Regions from separate parts of the Homo sapiens genome. Here regions 2, 3, 4, 5, 6 and 7 are each linked to region 1. Evidence: promoter capture Hi-C in 16 types of primary human blood cells and fetal thymus (Javierre and others, 2016). All regions are on one chromosome and are shown on one strand. The core of a region is centred on a gene start or on the middle of the fragment in contact, and the rest is flanking DNA. Distances in the headings are between cores, read along the strand shown. Region 1 holds the start of IFT74 (intraflagellar transport 74). Region 2 overlaps HAUS6 (HAUS augmin like complex subunit 6). Region 3 has its middle 1.8 kb from the start of MLLT3. Region 4 holds the start of SMU1 (SMU1 DNA replication regulator and spliceosomal factor). Region 5 overlaps DNAJA1 (DnaJ heat shock protein family (Hsp40) member A1). Region 6 has its middle 3.0 kb from the start of APTX. Region 7 overlaps HACD4 (3-hydroxyacyl-CoA dehydratase 4).

What was found. Contacts are between HindIII fragments. The CHiCAGO score rates a contact against its expected background, and 5 or more counts as called.
Region 2: a contact is called between a fragment that was not itself captured here and the fragment with the promoter of IFT74 in region 1, in 3 of 17 cell types (non-activated CD4 T cells, naive CD8 T cells and total B cells). The highest score is 13.1, in non-activated CD4 T cells.
Region 3: a fragment that was not itself captured here is called in contact with the fragment with the promoter of IFT74 in region 1 in 2 of 17 cell types (fetal thymus and total CD8 T cells); the score reaches 12.3 in fetal thymus.
Region 4: the fragment with the promoter of SMU1 here is called in contact with the fragment with the promoter of IFT74 in region 1 in 7 of 17 cell types (activated CD4 T cells, naive CD4 T cells, non-activated CD4 T cells and 4 more); the score reaches 10.0 in activated CD4 T cells.
Region 5: a contact is called between a fragment that was not itself captured here and the fragment with the promoter of IFT74 in region 1, in 1 of 17 cell types (naive CD8 T cells). The highest score is 6.8, in naive CD8 T cells.
Region 6: a contact is called between a fragment that was not itself captured here and the fragment with the promoter of IFT74 in region 1, in 5 of 17 cell types (total CD8 T cells, non-activated CD4 T cells, fetal thymus and 2 more). The highest score is 9.9, in total CD8 T cells.
Region 7: a fragment that was not itself captured here is called in contact with the fragment with the promoter of IFT74 in region 1 in 1 of 17 cell types (total B cells); the score reaches 5.6 in total B cells.

What each region holds. Positions count from the first base shown.
Region 1 is chr9:26,954,812-26,957,824 of GRCh38, forward strand. IFT74 (intraflagellar transport 74) reads left to right here and starts at 1,601. Exons shown (of 20, transcript NM_025103.4): 1 at 1,601-1,705. It overlaps IFT74-AS1 (IFT74 antisense RNA 1), which reads right to left and starts at 1,496. Exons shown (of 2, transcript NR_121605.1): 1 at 1,316-1,496; 2 at 969-1,204. RefSeq lists enhancers at 813-1,548, 1,549-2,283 and a silencer at 2,880-3,013. The HindIII fragment of the contact is 1,304 bases long and covers 1,122-2,425 here.
Region 2 is chr9:19,063,162-19,066,174 of GRCh38, forward strand. HAUS6 (HAUS augmin like complex subunit 6) reads right to left here. Exons shown (of 17, transcript NM_017645.5): 13 at 353-419; 14 at 1-32. It also overlaps SCARNA8. Among named protein-coding and RNA genes, the nearest start is that of RRAGA, 15 kb to the left of the region's middle. The HindIII fragment of the contact is 222 bases long and covers 1,408-1,629 here.
Region 3 is chr9:20,622,761-20,625,773 of GRCh38, forward strand. No RefSeq gene overlaps it. Among named protein-coding and RNA genes, the nearest start is that of MLLT3, 1.8 kb to the left of the region's middle. RefSeq lists silencers at 1-177, 198-337. The HindIII fragment of the contact is 1,902 bases long and covers 476-2,377 here.
Region 4 is chr9:33,075,234-33,078,246 of GRCh38, forward strand. It overlaps SMU1 (SMU1 DNA replication regulator and spliceosomal factor), which reads right to left and starts at 1,441. Exons shown (of 12, transcript NM_018225.3): 1 at 1,350-1,441. The coding sequence starts at 1,375. RefSeq lists enhancers at 1,303-1,452, 1,623-1,822. The HindIII fragment of the contact is 3,581 bases long and covers 398-3,013 here.
Region 5 is chr9:33,036,557-33,039,569 of GRCh38, forward strand. It overlaps DNAJA1 (DnaJ heat shock protein family (Hsp40) member A1), which reads left to right. Exons shown (of 9, transcript NM_001539.4): 7 at 18-133; 8 at 459-559; 9 at 2,129-3,013. The coding sequence ends at 2,347. Among named protein-coding and RNA genes, the nearest start is that of DNAJA1, 13 kb to the left of the region's middle. The HindIII fragment of the contact is 2,491 bases long and covers 150-2,640 here.
Region 6 is chr9:33,003,079-33,006,091 of GRCh38, forward strand. It overlaps a transcript of APTX not described here. Among named protein-coding and RNA genes, the nearest start is that of APTX, 3.0 kb to the left of the region's middle. The HindIII fragment of the contact is 833 bases long and covers 1,137-1,969 here.
Region 7 is chr9:21,021,748-21,024,760 of GRCh38, forward strand. All of the region lies in intron 3 of HACD4 (3-hydroxyacyl-CoA dehydratase 4), which reads right to left. Among named protein-coding and RNA genes, the nearest start is that of HACD4, 8.4 kb to the right of the region's middle. The HindIII fragment of the contact is 4,309 bases long and covers 1-3,013 here.

The DNA of each region.
Region 1 (3,013 bases), core at 351-2,850:
CAAATTACAACTTGATATAACCTAATTCCAATTTGATATAACCTTAAAAGCAACAGAACCTAATACATAATGATCCAAAGTCAAATAAGATATGGTGCCTACTCTAAGGAAGCTCAGAGGCAAATAAGTGAGATGTATTCCTATTCTCTATTCCTTTTTCATCATGAAAAAGAAATGGGGACAGGGATCAATACTTACTACCTAAATGAGCTTAAGCAAATTATTTAATCTCTTTAAAACTTGGATAATAGTATCTGTCCTGCCAATTTCAACTGTTAATATCTGTCAGGGTCCTTAAGTGCAAGGAACAGAAATCATCTATAAATGATATAAAAGCTGAAAATGAATTTATTAAAGGACATTAAGCAGCTCACAGACTCTCCCAGAAGCTGAAGAAACAAGCTAGAGGTTCTCCTCCCAATAAAGCCTCTGAGTACCTAACACTGCAGCTTGCAACAACACACTGATGCTGGACACTGGTTGCTGGTGATAGAACATTGCAGTCTCGGAAACGATGTAGTTACTGCGGCTGTCACCCTTACTTCAACAGACTCTCTGAAGTCCTGCTTCTGGTTGTCATTCAAGTTTGAGTTGAGTCCACCAAATTAGATTGGAGAGTCTAGCAAGCAATAATACTCATGTCCCAGTAATAAGGAAGACTAGGAAAGCCAGTATCTGTCACTTTCAGTTCCTGTAAGGGTGTTGGGGGGCAGGGTAAGGGAGAAACTCTGCCAAAAGGATGACAAATGGCCACTGCAAATAGGGTGAGCTCAAATGAGATAATTACATGAAAATGTTTCACAAACTAAGGGAGAATTCAGCCACATAACATTATCTCATTTTGTGTTGTATTGATTTTTAACTCCTCGAAGGCAGGCAAGTTGGAAATAATGTGTAAAATAATGTTAAAATCCCAATACATATGCAATCACATTTAAGCTGTTATCAATGAAGATTGGAAGGAAACATACAGTAAAAGTTATTTTATTAGAGAAGTGGGATTTAAGGTGAAGTAGTTCTTAAATTAAAAAAAAAAAAAAAAAGGACACTTTCCATTGAATTCACAGTCTTCCCCACAAACTTGGATCCAAATTCTAATGAAAGGAAGCTTAAAGACGCAAAGCTTCTGGTGAAAGCAGGAACGGAACAGTTGGTGCCAGAATCGCATCCATACTTCATGATGCGTTGTGTACGCTATGCCGTCCTAATAGGAAGGAAAACTACCACAAATTAGGAGTTTAGAAAATTGCACAATGCTGCCTACCACTTAACTTCAAATGTAACCTGTTAACAACGTTAGCCGACGTGAGGTTACCTAGGGACATAGCAAAACTCGCTAGAGTTACTTCAAGTAAGGCACACGGAGGTTGCTCTGATTATCAAGAAAACCAAACGTTCACATAAAATGTTTGTCTTCCAGCCGCCCCGCTGTTTTCCACTTTTTCCAAAAAGCACTGAAGCGTGGTGAAGAAACAAACATATCCTCAATTCTCGCGAGAGCTCCGTGTGTAACCAAGGGCTGAGGCGGAGGATTGGTCACTCAGGATGAGGAGCCTCCGCTATCCCGCCCCCGTTGCCGGGATACGCCGCGGCGCACGGCAGTTAGTGGGTAGGCCTGAGAGCCGAGGAAAACTGAGCGTGGGCCTCAGAAAGAAGTTAAGGCACCCGCGAGCCGGGCAACTGCCCTCCTTCCGCGCCGGCGGAGGTGAGAATCCCCGGGTCCCATCTCTTCCTCCCTCCCTCCCACGTCTGTTCTCTTGCCTTGGAGATGCTGATCCGCTCCAAACAAAACAAATTCAAACTCGGTCTTAGCTAACTGTTACCGTCGGGCCTGTAGCCAGGCCAGGCATGTACCAATTCTAGTCGAGCGAAGGTTGCGAACAGACCTCCTCCAACAGCCCGACCCCTCCCCGACCCCCCGCAGGAGACCCGCCAAGCACAGAGCAGAGGGAAGGACCGCGATGGGCTGAAGGATTTTAGTCAAAGCAATACATTTCTGCCTCTTACAGTGGAAGGGACTTATTTCTGTCTGTTGATCACAGTGCGGGCAGTTAGCAACTTTCCACTTATTCACCTGTGTGAGAATGGTTGGCTTAGGGAGGATAACGATAGTAATAATAATTAGAAGCAGATGTTTTAAATGTAATACTTATCGTCTTCACAACAGCCCTGCAAGGTAGATGTCACCCTTCTGTTTTACAGAAGATGAAATCCTGAGGGGTTAATTAAGGTGGCAAGATTATGCAGCCGCTAACTTTGTCAGCACTAGTTTGTATCGCTAATCATTCTGGATCCAAAGGCCAGGCTGCCTCTCTGTGTGAATAATTGGAAATTGTGTGACTCTTTGATTGAATAACCCCGAAGTTAGTGGTATATTTGTTGCTAATGCCCGCCTCTTAATCCCACTGGTAATAATATAATGGTAAGCTTTTTTTCACCACAGTAAAACGGTGGCAAAGAAAATTGGGTGAAATTTTTTATGTTGTACATTTTCTCAAAGTTAGCAGGAAACCTAGAGTAATATCTTTTCCACTGGAAAGAGATGTTTATTGTACTCGTTTTCTTCTGGAAAAACCATTTTGATCATACACCGTCTTCCTTTTCAAAGAGTCATTTCATGAAATTCCTTTTTCCATTTGAAATTCTTTTGCTTTGTACATAGAGTTCAAAATGGCAAGGAATTAGAATCAGGGAGCTAGTGGGGTCAGGAAGATTGATGTGAACATATTCAAATGAGATATCTGAATGGAAATTTCAGATAAACAATTGAAAACTCAAAATTGGTGCCCAGTTGAAAGGGCAGAACTGTAGACATTGATTAGTGAGCCGTACACATAGTTGGAGTTATAAAGATGCATGACTGTAGAAAGGATAGAAGCAGTCCAAGGACTGATTACGAGTAATGCTAAGAAAAGTCAGAAAAGTAGTACTGGACATAGAGTGTAGAAACAGAGAAATCATTTTAGTCCAACACACGCTTTGTTTGCCTTTTTTTTTTTTGAGACGGAGTCTT
Region 2 (3,013 bases), core at 269-2,768, 7.9 Mb before region 1:
TTTTTTTCTTTGGGAGTTCCCATCTTTGTGTCCTGAAGAAGACAGATATGTAATGTTAAACCCTTAATAATCATGGCTGATCCTGAAGCTGTCTTCATTAGCAGTTCACTGGTTATCATGAACCTATAAAAGGTTGTTAATACTATTGTGAAATTGTATGTCACTGGCAGAATTAACTAATTCCAATATTCCCACTTAGCAATAAGGAATATAAGTAGATATGGTACAAAATGTACAAATAGTAGAAAATGTGAAATTAGAAATTAAATTTAACTGTGGTATCAACAAAAATAAATAATATTTTATAATTTAGTATGGTCCAGAATTAATTGAGACTTATTTTAAAATATACCTTTTCAAGTACTGTAACACTGTTTCTATCTGATGATGAAACTGACTGCGACAAGAAAGAGGCAGGGCTAAAAGGAAAAAAGACAACAAATCCAAGTTATAAGGAGAAAAGAATTCCATTCCCTTTACGAGTCTATTCTAAAATCTGTCTGCCCCGTATCTGTCCGTTACGATTTCACTCAATTCGTCCCGGTCATCAAAAGGCAGTTTATTCTAGGGAGGCATGGTGACAAGTAGAGCAGTATTTCAGCCCAATTTGTGTATCAGCCTCCCAATTATGAAGACTTTACTTACCACATACTGAGTCAACAATATTTTGATTTGAAAGAGTTAAGTGACTTAATGAATACTCCACAACTTGAACACAGGTTAAAAACAGATTCAATTAACTAGAACTGCATTATTACAATGTCACAGGTTCCAAATCACAGTTTCTTTGTAGCAGATCCTTTATTTTATTTTTTTTTTTTTTGAGACGGAGTTTCGCTCTTGTTGCCCAGGCTAGAGTGCAATGGCGCGATCTTGGCTCACCACGACCTCCGCCTCCCAGGTTCAAGCGATTCTCCTGCCTCAGCCTCCTGAGTAGCTGGAATTACAGGCATGCGCCACAACACCTGAGTAATTTTGTCTTTTTAGTAGAGATGGGCTTTCTCCATGTGAGTCAGGCTGGTCTCAAACTCCCGACCTCAGGTGATCCGCCCACCTTGGCCTCCCAAAGTCCTAGGATTACAGGTGTGAGCCACCACACCTGGCCCAGCAGACTTATTTTTAAGATTCTCTTGATACTTCATATCCAAAATCAATTTCTCATATGCTAAATTTTACTCTATAGCAAACATGTTACAGTTTCACAGTAATGTCATAAGGTCAGAGTTTTAGTTTGCCACATTCTGTTGTATTTGTTAATCTTTTGTATTCCCTTGCCCTTTTGGATAAATATTAAAATTTATGCAGCTTTTCATGCTAATTATAAAATGTTATTAAATTCTAAAATCTTCAAAGAAATGGTAACTTTTTTACTTTGGTCTTAAAAACCTTTAAAAGTTAAAAGCCTAAAGCTTTTCTACTCTAGTTACTATAAGACAGGATTATCAAAGACTGCTTTCAACAGCATGCATGTTGGTACTTTCCTTTCTTCTTATAACTAGAAGTACAAAATTAATAGCACTGCAAATATTTTATATCATAGTAAATGTAATTTTCAAACTTTTTCAAATATGCACTCTTAGAGTCTTTGCCTACGTTCCAAACATAATTCAAAATCACTGCAATCACTCAAGCTTCAACGTAGCATTGACAAAATATAATCCAGATATCAAAGGCAAAGAATTGATCATCTACTAGATTTTGAGGGAAACTTAACATTAAAATTATCAAAAAGCCCCCTGAAACAGAGCCAGCAATCTATGGACCAATGCCACTAAGGTGCCACCACCACAAGAAGGTAAGGACAAAGGCTATGTCTTTCCCTAAGGCTATTCCCAGAGGCTAACACAGTGGTTGGTAGTGCAATACATACATGTTAACTATTTGATGGATTGATGGAATCGATGAGTAAATGCCACTTGAGAATGGGGTTCTATAGGTGACAAGTGTTTCCATTTGAATGATTCTTGTGGAACCTTATAGCAGAGAACAATGGAAACATTCTGTACCCTCCCCTCTCTCATTTCTGAACTGGCAACATGCTATTAAACCTGCTAACATCATAATCTAAGACAAGTTTAAAGCAGCCCTGGCTCAGTCTTTATACTTCGTCCATTTGCCATGCCAAGATTGAGGCCTATGAAATCCTAGCACTGTAACAAAACAGAAGGATGGTGATCCCCTTGTGGAAATTTATCCTAAGGGAAGAACAGAGAGAAAAAAGAGGAACACACTTTTTATAGTAGTAAAAAATAAAATTGAGAGAAAATTCAAGTCTACAAATAAATGTAGTGTTACAAAGCTATTATCAATGAAAATTGGTTAATATGTTATTTAAACATACAGACAGCCAAAAAAAAATCACAACCGTTTATACTATGTTAATGTTTTAAAATTTTGGGCTGGGCGCGGTGGCTCACGCCTGTAATCCCACCACTTTGGGAGGCTGAGGCAAGCGGATCACCTGAGGTCAGGAGTTGAAGACCAGCCTCGCCAACATGATGAAACCCCATATCTACTAAAAATACAAAAATTAGCCAGGTGTGGTCATGGGCGCCTGTAATCCCAGCTACTCGGGAGGCTGAAGCAAGAGAATCGCTTGAACCCAGGAGGCAGCAGTTGCAGTGAGCCGAGATCGTGCCATTGCACTCCAGCCTGGGCAACAGGAACGAAACTCCGCCTCAAAAATAAATTAATGAATAAAATTTTGTACTTTAGAATTCTGCATTTTAAAATTTGTATTTAGATTGTATCCATCCTTTGATCACAGCCAAAAATTTTTTTTTTTTTTTTTTGAGACAGACTCTCACTCTGTCGCCCACACTGGAGTGCAGTGGCGGGATCCTGGCTCACTGCAACCTCCGCCTCCTGGGTTCAAGCACTTCTCCTGCCCCAGCCTCCTGAGTAGCTGGAATTACAGGTGCCGACCACCACACCTGGCTAATTTTTGTAGTTTTAATAGGGACAGGGTTTCACCATGTTGGCCAGGCTGTTCTCAAACTCCTGACCTCAGGTG
Region 3 (3,013 bases), core at 177-2,676, 6.3 Mb before region 1:
ATCCCAGCCCCTGTGTAAACTCTGCTCGCCCTACAATAAAAAACGGATTAAAACTGCTGGAATGTAGCCACTGCTTAGAGCCCTCAGCAGCCGGAGAGGGGGTGTTAAATCAAGTCCTTAGCTAGTACGCACGGGGAGGAGGGAGTGGGCTTTCTTTTACTTTCCACCACGTATTTCTGTGGTTTTGTGCTGAAAAGACAAGAACTCACACCCAAACAAACTTACTTAAAGAGAGCGAGAGAAATGCCATCCTGCAAAAAACGAGCATGAAAATAGCAATGACTGAGGCTGTTCTAACCCGCAACGATCCCCTGGCCCCCTGCCCCATCCACTCACAGGCACCCGCCCGCCACCCTCACTCCCCGCCCTTCTGCCACCGCCACCGAAAATTTGAAAATGAAATGAACAAGGGAGAAACAAGGATGCTATTTCCTTGCAAGGGAACGCCTTCCGCTTTGGTAATCCCCGGCTGGGAAGCTTCATAAAGCGGTGCCCAGGTGAAAGCAAGACACCTGGGAGTGCCGGGTACAGACCCTCGGGGACCAGGCTTGGAGTTGTTTTCTTCGGGGGGCTTCCCCTCCTGACAGCCTACTGAGTTGCATCAGAACGTGGAGGATTGTCCTCTGAGGACGCGCGGGGCAACCGGGAGTCTTAAAATAGCAGATAAAGTTAATACTGACTGTAATGTGCGTAAATTGGATTATAATCTTTAGGCGTATTGGTGACAACCAGCGTAATCCATCTCTGAGTATTAATCCGGTTAGACTCCCGGGTGACAGCCAGTCGCAGGAGTGTTCCCAGAGTCGCGCCTCTGCAAATGTTCTCACTCGCGTTGTATTTGATCTCAGTGGCCGGAGATAGAACAGCGCGGCCACGCGTGGGGCGCGGAGAGGAGTATCAACTACTGGCTTCCTTTACAGACGCAGATAACCTTTAAAAAGGAAACGGATAAGATCTAGACGATTGATTTGAAAGTGAAAGATGGATGTGACTTTGGTTCGTTAAAAAAAGATCCTTGCATCTTCCTAGCCCTTAGACCTCTTTTGCCTTCTCTTTACTCCCCTTTTTCCCTCGCCTTCCAACTTCTTGCTGAACCTTGATTTTTCCTTCTCTTCTCCTTGCCTTTCCTCTTTGTCCCTCTTTCTTTCCTCTTTGTCCCTTTCTTTCCTCTTTGTCCCTTTCTTTCCTCTTTGTCCCTCTTCCTCTTTCTGACTGAACTTCCTTGCTTTCCTCTTTTCCCTTTACTTCCCTTTTCCACAAAAGCAAGTTGTCTCGGCCCTTGAATTGAGAAGAGCAGAATAGCGGGGAGGACGTTACCTAGGGCGTCCTGTGTCCTCGCTGTTAATTTTCAGTTCTCCCAGCAGCTCTCACAAAGATCCTGGGAATCAGGTCGGACCACTTGGAACCAACCTTAGTTTCCAAACCAGCAGCCTTCCAACTCAACTTTTGATTCCCTAAAACTGATATTCCGCTGCCTGTCAGTTATAATCAAGAAACTTCTTTGGCTTGAGGTCCCCAGTTCTTCCCAGCCTTCTACAGGATTTAGCATAGAATGGAGCAAACGACTGAAGGTAGAAACATTTTAATCTAAATCCAAGGGCTTAGATTTGTCAACTGACACACATATACATAACTGCATATCATCCTGTAGGTATATGCGTCGCTGTGTCTGTATGTATGTACAAGGACTACGTTTATATTCGCAGAGACAAGCTGTGTGGGTAGTATCTACGTGAAGGGGGGACCTATTTATTGTGCATTATTAAACTTTTCATAAAATAATCAAATTTGAGAGCAGTCCTTTGTAATAATAGTATTGGAAACTAAAGGTTATCTGGACGTGCCATTAGTAAAGCCATTTCTTATTAAGAAGTAACCATTAACAGCGAGTGTAGCTCAGGACACAGGCAAAAAACAACAATCCCATTCCCCGTTTGAGTTCATTTCAGGGTTTAACTTCTTCCGGCGCCAGCCACCGGACTCTCTTGAGATTGTCTCCAAAACTTGTACCCGCACAACAGATAGAGGTCTCTTTTTTGAATTATGTGTTTGCTGAATTCAGATTTATTCCAGCAATCACTAATAAGCCATAGAGTCTGAAAGGGTATTTTCCCAGTACCCCTCCTTCCTCAAAGAATGCTCTAACAACCCAACGTAGTTACTCCCAATCTCCAAATACTGGACATTTAGATTCCGTCAGTAGATGGCGCACGGAGCTCTTCCACGGACGTCCTTACGTGACCCCTTCACAACAAAAAGATCAGGAAGGGGGAGAAAAGAAAGAAAAGAAAACACAAGACTGAATACTCTCCCTTCAACTTTGGACAAAGAAATTTATGCAAGTCTGTCAATTTATTAATTACAACCTATTTTAATAAGCTTGCCATTAAAAACAATTAAAATCGATTAATTTCCTGTGCAGATCTTCACACTTTAACGTGAGGTAAAAATGTGGAAAATAACCTTTTGTGTACTTGACAATGTGGTTATAGAAAATGTACTGTAAAGAAATTTTAAGACAAACTTCAGTGCTAAATACAGAAATAGTAATATAATAACTAAAATGGAAGTGGTGAGGGATAAAATCATCTACTTATCCAAAGAATAATTATCTTACCAAAATTCATACTGTTGTATATAGCACAGTATGAAGCACCATGGGGTTAGTTTGAAGATCAGAAAAGTAATTAACATATCAAATAAAAATCGTGATGAAGAATAAAAGAGAACAGTGTCTGTGACAGATCACTACCACCACTACCATCACCATTGCCCTACCACCATCATTTTGGCTCCAGCCTTTTTATTTGCAATTGTTTTCTTTAGTCTGGAAGCTAAAGCCAGTTTCCATGTTTCTGGCAGAACAAAGAGAGGGCCTTTAACGTGTAATTAGAGTGTTAAGGAGCATCCTAAAATAAACTTATCTATTTGTTGTGATAGATAATTGATGCACAAATTCAAATCAATAAAAATTTACCATTTATTTCCCGTCATTGCTGTATAGACTTGGGGA
Region 4 (3,013 bases), core at 191-2,690, 6.1 Mb after region 1:
GGGCATGGTGGTGGGCGCCTGTAGTCCCAGCTACTCGGGAGGCTGAGGCAGGAGAATGGCGTGAACGTGGGAGGCGGTGCTTGCAGTGAGCGGAGATCGCGCCACTGCATTCCAGCCTGGGTGACAGAGTGAGACTCCGTCTCAAAAAAAAAAAAGGGAACTGATTGCTGCTACCTGCAGTAGTCTTTTTCTCTCATGGCCCCTTTATGAGGTATGCAGGTATCCAGACTTAGACCCCTGTTATTCTGCTATGATACTATCTTCCTTAGCACATGTCCGTTGACTTCCATTTTACACTCCCAAAATAAGTCATCTCTCTCCTCAAACAGCTCACATTTGACATAGCCAAAATCAAATTCCCTACCTTCAAACAGAAATGAATACATAAAGAGCTAGAAGCTTTGAAGATAGTCTGGGATTTGAATCAAAGTTATGTGACCTTGGACAAGTAGGTTAACATCATTTCAGTATTTGCTGAATGCATAAACCTCCCTTCCTCCTATGAAAAGTCTCCAAAAAAGGTCCTCTCCCTCCCTTACACTCAGACACAATTTTTATGTCTGTTAATTTAATTATTATTAAGTGTTGGCAAGGACAGGTGGAGGATGGAGTTCTGGAAAAGCACACTAAGGTCTTCTTTAGTCACTAATTCTCATCCCCTATTCCTTGAAAATTTTTCTTTCTAGCCCAGTCTCCAGTCTGTCTCTCCCCAGACAACCCAAAATTCCGTGCCAGATCGGGCCTGATAGTTGTTCATTCATTCCAAAAGCTAGTTGTTCATTCATTCCAAAAGCAATTAACTCTTCCTCTAAGGTATGCTAGACACTGAGACCACAAGGAAAAGGAGCTCCTAGGCACCGACAAAGGCTAGTTTGGGGTGAGGTTATCAAACAGTGACAATACTGAGTGATAAACGCTAGGCAGAGAAAAGCAAAGGGGCCGTATAAGCAGAGACAACGAATCACATTGCATAAGCTGGACAGGGAGAGAAGCAAGGCTTAAAGAGACCTATCCCCTTGCGCAGATAATTAGACTGGAGTCCAGAGTGGATCCTTAATTTGGTCAATCACAGCGCGCCAGCAGTCGGCCAAGGACAGAACTTAGGTCTGCAAGGTGTGTTTTCCCCACCCGTGCCACCTCCCTCGAGGTTTTGGGCTTCACGTCTGAGAGCTGCTACTTTCCTGTGGGCCCACCTCCGAGGTAGCGAGATCCAAGATGCTTCTTTGGGGGCAAGGAAATGGCCCTCCACTCCCTGGCCTCTCGGATGCCTTCTCCCGAGTACCCTCCGCCCCACACCCTTAACCTCCAGGCCCCCGGCAAGGCGCGAACATCCCCACCGCAGGACTCACTCCGAAGATTCGATTTCGATCGACATAGCCGTATCTCTCCGGGAGCAGGCCCCAGCTCTCCCTCAAGGCCAGTCGCGCAACACACCAACGACACCTCCGGCGGACACCTAACGTCACTTCCGCTTGGGTCGGCGTCTGGCTCCCGCTCTGGAGATAGAGTGAACGAAGAGTAGGGGCGAGGTTCGCGTAGGGGCGGAGCCCTCAGGGGCTGTCAGAGGGCGGAGTTTATGCCCCTGCCCCAGAGAAATACGCATCAGGAGGAAGACTGTTTAAAAGCAGGCCGGAGCCGGGTGCGGTGGCTCACGCTTGTAATCCCAACACTTTGGAAGGCCGAGGCGGGCGATCACCTGAGGTCGTGAGTTCGAGACCAGCCTGACCAACATGGAGAAACCCCCGTCTCTACTAAAAATACAAAATTAGCCGGGCGTAGTGGCGCATGCCTGTAATCCCTACTCGGGAGCCTGAGGCAGGAGAATCGCTTGAACCCAGGAGGCGGAGGTTGCGGTGAGCCGAGATCGCGCCATTGCACCCCAGCATGGAAAACAAGAGCGCAACTCCGTCTCAAAAAAAAAAAAAAAAAAAAAAGAAAGATAGAAAAGAAAAAGAAAAAAAGCACCGGGCGCCATACAGCTCACAAATGTACTGAAAAAGAAAAGCGCTGGGGCGGAGCGCGGTGGCTCGCGCCTGTACTCCCAGCGCGCGAGTTCGAGACCAGCCTGGGCAACATGGTGAAGCCCCGTCTCTACTAAAAATACAAAAAATTAGCCGGGCGTGGTGGCGGGGGCGCCTGTAATCTCAGCTACTCGGGAGTCTGTGGCAGGAGAATCGTTTCACCTCTGGAGGTGGATGCGGTGAGCCGAGATCACACCATTGCACTCCAGCCTGGGCAAGGAGAGCAAAATTCCGTCTCAAAAGAAGAAAAGAAAAGTAGTGGTGATAAGATTGTAGTAAGAAAAGCAAAGAAAAGAAAGAAGAAAAGAAAGAAAAGAAAAGAAAGAAAAGAAAGAGCACTGGTTTGGAAAGATTGCTTTTTTTTTGAGACGGAATCTCGCACTGTCGCCCGGGCTGAAGAGCACAATGGCGCGATCTCGGCTCACTGCAAACTCTGCCTCCCGGGTTCAGGAGATTCTCTTGCCTCAGCCTCCGGAGTAGCTGGGATTACAGGTTTCTTGCCATCACGCCAGGCTAATTTTTTGTATTTTTAGTAGAGATGGGATTTCACTATGTTGGTCAGGCTGTTCTCGAACTCCTGACCTCGTGATCCGCCCGCCTCGGTCTCCCAAAGTGCTGGGATTACAGGCGTGAGTCACTGCGCCCAGCCAATGTTGCTTTCGTTTGATGTAATTAGTTGATTAGATTTAAGATGAGGCTGAATATGCAATACCTGATGGGATATTAATACATTCAAAACCAACATAACACTAGCCAAAATTTATAGGAAGAGTTAATTGAGGATTTTGGTTGGTTGGTTGGTTTTGCGTTTTTTTGAATCAAGGACTCGCTTTGTTGCCCATGCTGGAGTGCAGTGTCTCGATCGTGGCACACTGCAGCCTCGACCCCTCCAGCTCAAGCAATCCTCCCACCTCAGCCACCCAAAGTGCTGGGATTACTGGCATGAGCCACCACGCCCTGTCACGGGACTTTAGGTCAAACACATTATTACA
Region 5 (3,013 bases), core at 145-2,644, 6.1 Mb after region 1:
TGTCATATTTTATGCAGACGAGGAGAAGACCTTTTCATGTGTATGGACATACAGCTCGTTGAAGCACTGTGTGGCTTCCAGAAGCCAATATCTACTCTTGACAACCGAACCATCGTCATCACCTCTCATCCAGGTATGGGAACTAGGCAAGCTTAAACTTCTCTTTTCTATTCTAGTATTTTCCTTGTCTCCTGTTAACAAAGTGTAGTATAGGCACTGAGGGAAACCCATTGTTTTTCTTTCTCGGTTACATATCCTTCTCTGGGCTTAGATGAAGTTATAAGGTCTTGGCTCTCTTGTCAGCCCTTGGAAAACCCATAAGTGAAAGGTAACAGGATTGCTTTGCCACGTAAGTTTTACTCCTGCCAATGAGCTAGGACAGTGCTCTGTTCTTTATATTCCCTGCCTCATAAAAATGTGACCATACTTAAGGAAGAACTTGGCTTCAATGTTTTTAGGTCAGATTGTCAAGCATGGAGATATCAAGTGTGTACTAAATGAAGGCATGCCAATTTATCGTAGACCATATGAAAAGGGTCGCCTAATCATCGAATTTAAGGTAAGCTGTAATGTACTTTAAGAATACTTGAGAACAATTGGCTTACTAAAATCTGATAAAAAAGTAAAATTTCAGCCAGGTGCAAGTAGCTCATGCCTGTAATCCCCGCATTTTGAGAGGCTGAGGCAGGAGGATCCCTTGAGCCCTGGAGTTTTGAGAACAGCCTGGGCAACATAGTGAAACCCTGTCTCTTTAAAAAAACAAAAAAAAAAAAAAATTAAAATTTCTGAATGCCTCAGAACCTGAAACTTACATTTTTCCACAGCAAGAAATATATGGATCTGGCCACGTGCCACTGGCACACACCTATAATCCCAGTGCTTTGGGAGGCCAAGACAGGTGGATTGCTTGAGCTCAGGAGTTAAAGGCCAGCCTGGGCAACATGGCAAAACCCCATCTCTACAAAAAGTACAAAAATTAGCCAGGCATGGTGGCACACACCTGTAGTCCCAGCTACTCGGGAGGCTGAGGTGGGAGGATTGCTTGAGCCTAGGTGGTCAAGGCTGCAGTGAATCAAGATCGTGTCACTGTACTTCAACCTGGGTGACAGAATGAGACCCTGTCTCAAAAAAAGAAAAAAGAAAATTTACCTAATAACTACTTCTGTCATGTTGAGCATTCTTTGTTAACAAGTTGAGGATGGGGTTTTTTGCATCATTAATTGGATATTTAAAGATAGGTTGTGGGAAGGGTGTGTGGGACAAGTGGGTATTTTACTAATGAAAGGTTGTAACTGGCATCTTAAAGTTGAGAGGTGCTTTATAATAATTGCAGATTTCTTGGCAAAATAGTGTAATGCTTGATTTGTTAATAGGTATAAAGCAATCCAGTCATTTTCCTGAGTCTTAAATTGGCCTGTCACCATAAAAATATTAATTAAAACTTTTTTTTTTTTTTTTCCTTTTTGAGACGGGAGTCTTGTTCTGTCACCCAAGGTGGAGTGCAGTGGTGCGATCCTGGATCACTGTAACCTCCACCTCCTGGGTTCAAGCAGTTCTCCTGCCTCAGCCTCCTGAGTAGCTGGGAATACAGGTGCCCGCCACCACGCTGGGCTTTTTAGTAGAGATGGGGTTTCACCATATTGGCCAGGCTGGTCTCAAACTCTTGACCTCAGGTGATCTGCCCATCTCAGCTTCCCAAAGTGTTGGGATTTGTAATCCCAATTGTATGAGCCACCGCGCCTGGCCTAAAAACATCTTTGGTAAGGAAGAACTACCCTTTTGAGAGTAAGAATAGCTTTGTTTAAATATGTCGTAAGAAGGGTTAGGCTGTTGCAGGATGGGTTTTGGTATTAAAAAGTCAGTTTGCTGGATAGAACAATGGTTGTTAAAGTGCAGTTTTATTTAATACAATCATTTTTAATAAAGCCTGACTTCTGGTCATAATCCTTGAACTCTAGTTCAGAGTGTGCTATGCACTGTGCCTTTTTAGAGCCTGTTCTAACCTGAGATTGGCAGATTCACCTAAATATTACGTGTTTACATGTGTTTTTCTGGGGAAAATGGGTCCATGATACTCTAAGGGAGCTAATGATGAAATCAGATTGAACAGTGAAAGTTTCTTTTGAAGGTAAACTTTCCTGAGAATGGCTTTCTCTCTCCTGATAAACTGTCTTTGCTGGAAAAACTCCTACCCGAGAGGAAGGAAGTGGAAGAGACTGATGAGATGGACCAAGTAGAACTGGTGGACTTTGATCCAAATCAGGAAAGACGGCGCCACTACAATGGAGAAGCATATGAGGATGATGAACATCATCCCAGAGGTGGTGTTCAGTGTCAGACCTCTTAATGGGCCAGTGAATAACACTCACTGCTGGCATTTAATGTGCAGTAGTGAATGAGTGAAGGACTGTAATCATAATATGCTCACTACTTGCTCTTGTTTTTGTTTTAATAAACTATAGTAGTGTTTTAAAAAGTTAAATGAAGAATAAACGCAAATATAAAAGCTCTGATTTTGCCCTGTATGTATGATGACTTCAGTGTGCAAGATGAAGTTTAATACCTGTAAAAACTACAAAGAAGTTCCCCTAGCATTTCTAGGCCAAACCTTGTAATTGACTTCAGCTATGTACGTGGACAAGCTTAGACTGAAATGCTAGGTATATGTATTGGCTTCAGTGTATGACCCTTCATTGTTAAGCTATGAAAGTAAAACTCTGTATTTAACTGGCAATGAGGAAAAAAAAATTTTGTAGAGAAGTGTTGGTCTGTATAGTTCTTTATATTAAGTGGGATTCATTGTAATGCCTCTGCATTTATTCTGTTGCCTCAGCTGTTACTTGAAGATGGCGTAATATATAATTTATCCTGTGGTATCAGTGATAAAAATGATACCTTTCTGTAGGAGGGGTTTATCATAATATGCTGCTTCTTGAAGGCTTGCACTTCCAGAATTGTGTTTCCTTCTGCTGTGCCATTCATATATATATACATATATATATATAATCTTGAC
Region 6 (3,013 bases), core at 303-2,802, 6.0 Mb after region 1:
ACCAGTTTTGTTGTTCCCTCAATTAAGCATCCCTCTCGGTTAAGGGTGCTTCTTTGACCTGCCTTTGTGTGTCTTGCATCCAAAAGTTGGATTGGATCATTCTAATTACATCATTCACTATATAATGTGCAAAATTGGGCAGAGTTTCCACGTCCTGCTTGTTAGGCCTAGTCCATTGTCTATAGTGTATTAGTGGCCAGAAAAGCAAGATCACATGGCACAATGTATAGCTAAAGGTATGGCAGGCAGTGAAGACTTTCAGGCACTTCATATTGCCATGCTAATCACCAGAACTTTTTCATCTTGAAAAACTGAAACTCGGCCAGGCACGGTGGCTCACACCTGTAATCCCAGCACTTTGGGAGGCCAACGCAGGTGGATTACCTGAGGTCAGGAGTTCAAGACCAGCCTGGCGTGGCGGAACTCGCCTGTAGTCCCAGCTACTTGGGAGGCTGAAGCAGAAGAATTGCTTGAACCCGGGAGGTAGAGGTTGCAGTGAGCCAAGATCACTCCACTGCACTCCAGCCTGGGCGATAGAGCAAGACTCTGCCTCAAAAAAAAAACTCCGTATCGATTAAATAGCTCCCTATTTTCCCTCCCCCACCTGGCAACCACCATTCTACTTACAGTTTTCATGAGTCTGACCACTCTAGGTACCTCATGTAAGTAAAATCAGACAGTATTTGCCCATTTGCGACTGGCTTATTTCACTTAATATAATGTCCTCAAGTTTCATCCACATTGTATCATGTGTAAAAAGTTCCTTTTTAAAGCTGAATAACACTCCATTGCATGTACACACCATACTTTATCCATTCATCCACCCGTGGATATTCCACCATTTGGCTATTGTGAATAATGCTGCTATGAACATGAGTGTATAAATATCTCTTTGAGATCCTGTTTTCACAATTTGCAATTGCAAGAACATGGAACCAACCTAAATGCCCATGAACTGATGAATGCATAAAGAAAATGTCGTACATATACACCACAGAATACTACTCAGCCATAAAGAAGAATGAAATAATGTCTTTTGAAGCAACTTGAATGGAACTGGAGGCCATTTTTCTAAGTGAAGTAACTCAGGAATGGAAAACCAAATACCACATGTTCTCACTTATAATTGGCAGCTAAGCTTTGGGTATGTAAAGGCATACAGAGTGGTATAATGTTCATTGGAGATTCAGAAGTGGAGAGAGTGGGAGGAAGATGAGAGATTTTAAAAAACTACATATTGGGTGTAACTATTACTCGGGTGATAGGTACACTAAAATTTCAGACTTCACCATTATACACTTCATCCATGAAACCAAAAACCATTTGTACCCCTAAAGCCACTGAAATTTGTTTTTAATGTGAAACAATTTTTAAAAATTCTTCTTTCAATTATTTTGAATATATACACAGAAGTGAAACTGCTGGATTATATGGTAATTCCATTTTTAATATTTTGAGGAACTGTCACACTGTTTTCCATAGCAGCTGGATGATTTTACATTTCTACCAATAGTGTACAAGAGTTCCAATTTCTCCACATTCTTGCCAACCCTTTTTTTTTTTTTTTTTTTTGAGATGGAGTCTCGCTCTGTCACCCAGGCTGGAGTGCAGTGGTGCAATCTCGGCTCCCTGCAACCTCCACCTCGCGGCTTAAGGCGATTCTCCTGCCTCAGCCTCCTGAGTAGCTGGGACTACAGGTGCCTGCCACCACACCCGGGTAATTTTTGTATTTTTTTTTTTTTTAGAAGAGATGGGGTTTCACCATATTGGCCAGGCTGATCTCAAACTCCTGACCTTGTGATCCACCCACCTCGGCCTCCCAAAGTGCTGGGATTACAGGTGTGAGCCACTGCGCCCGGCCGCTTGTTACTTTTTTTTGATAGCAGCCATCCTAATGGGTGTGAAATGGTATCTCATTGTGGTTTTGCTTTGTATTTCCCTAATGATTAGTGATGTTGATCTTTTCATAAGCTTCCTGTCTATTTGTATGTATTTGGAGAAATGTCTATTCAAGTACTTCATTTTTTAATGGGGTTATTTTTGTTTTGTTTTGTTGTAGGAGTTCTTTATATATTCTGGATATTGACCTCTGATCAAATATAAGATTCCCATTTCATAGGGTGCTTTTCACTCTGCTTGCTGGCTGTATCCCTGGATGCACAAAACTTAATTGTGAAGTACTTTAATTTACCTATTTTTACTTTTGCTGCCTGTCTTTTGGTGTTATATCCAAGAAAACATTGCCAAATCTGTCATGAAACTTTTCCCTTATGTTTTCTAAGAGTTTTATAGTTTTAGGTCTTATGTTTAGGTCTTTGATCCATTTTTGAGGTGTGGTTTTATTTTTTTGTTTTTTGTTTTTGTTTTTGTTTTTGTGAGACAGAGTCTTGCTCTGTTGCCCAGGCTGGAGTGCAGTGATGCAATCACAGCTTACTGCAGCCTTGACCACCCAGACTCAAACAATCCTCCCACCTCAGCCTCCCAAGTAGCTGGGACTACAAGCATGTCCCACCAAGCCTGGCTAATTTTTTTTTTAATAGAGACAGAGGTCTTGCTATGTTGCCCAGGCTGATCTTGAACTCCTGGGCTCAAGCAATCCTCCTGCCTCAGCCTCCCAAAGTGCTGACATTACAGGTGTGAGACACTGTGCCTGGCCTTGAGTTCATTTTCTGTACTATGTAAGGTAAGGCTCCAACTTCAATTTTTTGCATGTGGATACCCAGATTTTAACAATATCATTTGTTGAAAAGACTGCCCTTTCCTCACTGAATGGTATTGACATACTTACTGAATATCATTTAATCATTTATGCAAGGATTTACTTCTGGGATTTCTATTGTATTCCATCAGTCTGTATGTCTGTCTTTACACTAGTACTGCACTGTTTTGATTACTATAGCTTTGTAATACTTTTTGAAATCAGGAAGTATAAGAACTTTATTCTTTTTTTTTTCAAGATTGTTTTTGGCTACTCTGCTCAGGGTTTTGTTGTTTGTTTGTTTGTTTGTTTGTT
Region 7 (3,013 bases), core at 175-2,674, 5.9 Mb before region 1:
GAACATTCCATGCTCATGGGTAGGAAGAATCAATATCGTGAAAATGGCCATACTGCCCAAGGTAATTTATAGATTCAATGCCATCCCCATCAAGCTACCAATGACTTTCTTCACGGAACTGGAAAAAACTACTTTAAAGTTCATATGGAACCAAAAAAGAGCCCGCATCACCAAGACAATCCTAAGCCAAAAGAACAAAGCTAGAGGCATCACGCTACCTGACTTCAAACTATACTACAAGGCTACAGTAACCAAAACAGCATGGTACTGGTACCAAAACAGAGATATAGACCAATGGAACAGAAGAGAGCCCTCAGAAGTAATACCACACATCTACAACCATCTGATCTTTGACAAACCTGACAAAAACAACAAATGGGGAAAGGATTCCCTATTTAATAAATGGTGCTAGGAAAACTGGCTAGCCATATGTAGCTGAAACTGAATCCCTTCCTTAAACCTTATACAAAAATTAATTCACGATGTATTAAAGACTGAAACGTTTGACCTAAAACCATAAAAACCCTAGAAGAACACCTAGGCAATACCACTCAGGACATAGGCATGGGCAAGGACTTCATGACTAAAACACCAAAAGCAATGGCAACAAAAGCCAAAATTGACAAATGGGATCTAATTAAACTAAAAAGCTCCGGTACAGCAAAAGAAACTACCATCAGAGTGAACAGGCAACCTACAGAATGGGAGAAAATTTTTACAATCTACCCATCTGACAAAGGGTTAATATCCAGAATCTACAAAGAACAAATTTACAGGAAAAAAAATCAACCCCATCAAAAAGTGGGCAAAGGATATGAACAGATACTTCTCAAAAGAACACATTTATGCAGCCAACAGACACATGAAAAAATGCTCATCATCACTGGCCATAGAGAAATGCAAATCAAAACCACAATGAGATACCATCTCACACCAGTTAGAATGGCAATCATTAAAAAGTCAGGAAACAACAGGTGCTGGAGAGGATGTGGAGAAATAGGAACACTTTTACACTGTTGGTGGGACTGTAAACTAGTTCAACCGTTGTGGAAGTCAGTGTGGCGATTCCTCAAGGATCTAGAACTAGAAATACCATTTGACCCAGCCATCCCATTACTGGGTATATACCCAAAGGACTATAAATCATGCTGCTATAAAGACACATGCACACGTATGTTTATTGCGGCACTATTCACAATAGCAAAGACTTGGAACCAACCCAAATGCCCATCAATGATAGACTGGATTAAGAAAATGTGGCACATATACACCACCGAATACTATGCAGCCATAAAAAATGATGAGTTCATGTCCTTTGTAGGGACATGGATGAAGCTGGAAACCATCATTCTGAGCAAACTATCGCAAGGACAGAAAAACAAACACCACATGTTCTCCCTCACAGGTGGGAACTGAACAATGAGAACACTTGGACACAGGAAGGGGAATATCACACACAGGGGCCTGTTGTGGGGTGGGGGGAGGGGGGAGGAATAGCATTAGGAGATATACCTAATATAAATGACGAGTTAATGGGTGCAGCACACCAACATGGCACATGTATACATATGTAACAAACCTGCACACTGTACACAGGTACCCTAGAACTTAAAGTATAATTTAAAAAATTAAAAAATAAATGCACAAGAAACAGAAACACAGCACAAAAACAAACCTATCCCCTGTGGACACACCACCACTACTTGATATGTGTAATGCCAATTGCTCAACTAGCTAATCAGTTCCTACTGTTGGTTGGAATTATTTCTCTTGATATTGTGGAGGACCAGTTCCCCCCAAGAAGAATTCAGTTGTCACTTAACAATCTTTTTTTTTTTTTTTTTTGAGACGGAGTCTTGCTCCGTCACCCAGGCTGGAGTGCAGTGGCCTGATCTCTGCTCACTGTAATCTCTGCCTCCAGGGTTCAAGTGATTCTCCTGCCTCAGCCTCCCGAGTAGCTGGGATCACAGGCACGCGCCACCACGTCCAGCTAATTTTTTTGTATTTTTAGTAGAGACAGGGTTTCACCATGTTGGCCAGGATGGTCTCGATCTCTTGACCTCGTGATCCGACCGCCTCAGCCTCCCAAAGTGCTGGGATTACAGGCGTGAGCCACTGCACCTGGCCCACTTAACTATCTCTTGAAGGTAATAATCAAAATCACATCACAACTGTATCGACATGGTTTTTTAGCTTACTTAAAAGCAGCCACTCTCTTAACTACAGTTTCTTCATTTAAAAATGGGGAAACAGGAAAACCAAGAATGATTACACAATCTGAAAGTTTTGTTTCATTATTTTAAAGCAGGGGCCTCAGCGCCATCCCATAATGAGGGAATTCTAATTGTCTGCATAATTCTAATATAGGAAGGAGGGAGAAAATGAAACTTTGGGCACAAAGGCATGTTTCTGAACCTTTATCCAACACCATTTCCATTGTGGGAACCACAAAAAGGATGATAAATTAATAAAAGAAATAGGGGCCAAATAAAATCTTAAAAGAGATAAAAAGAGGAAGCCAAACAACCACAACAAAAATTGATAATATTCAGCTCAGGAAGAGAATAATTTTCTTCCCTAACACAGTGATCTCTGACTTATCTCTCCCAGTAACTGAAGACTTAAAAATCATTTGCACTCCGATAACATCAGATTTTGCAAACTCGCCTTTGAATAAAAGGTCTCAATGTATATTTGCCCCTATGTTTAAATTGCCAAACCAAGATTTGGTTCTTTGATTACAGTTATATTTCTATAAGCCATTAAAGTTTTAATTAGCAGTGATTAAAATCAGGTGTATATTCTGGAATTCCTCCAAGAAATCAGATTTCTAAGTTATATAATAATTTCTATTACTAAACAAGCCTAATTTTGTAAAGCACATATGTGCACATTTTCTAGGCACATTCAAGGTGCTCAGTGAGTTTTCTTCCTTAAAAAATTATCTATTCCCTGTAGGTGCATTCTCTACACTGGCAATAATTAAATAACACTACTTTTGATTTTGAAAATG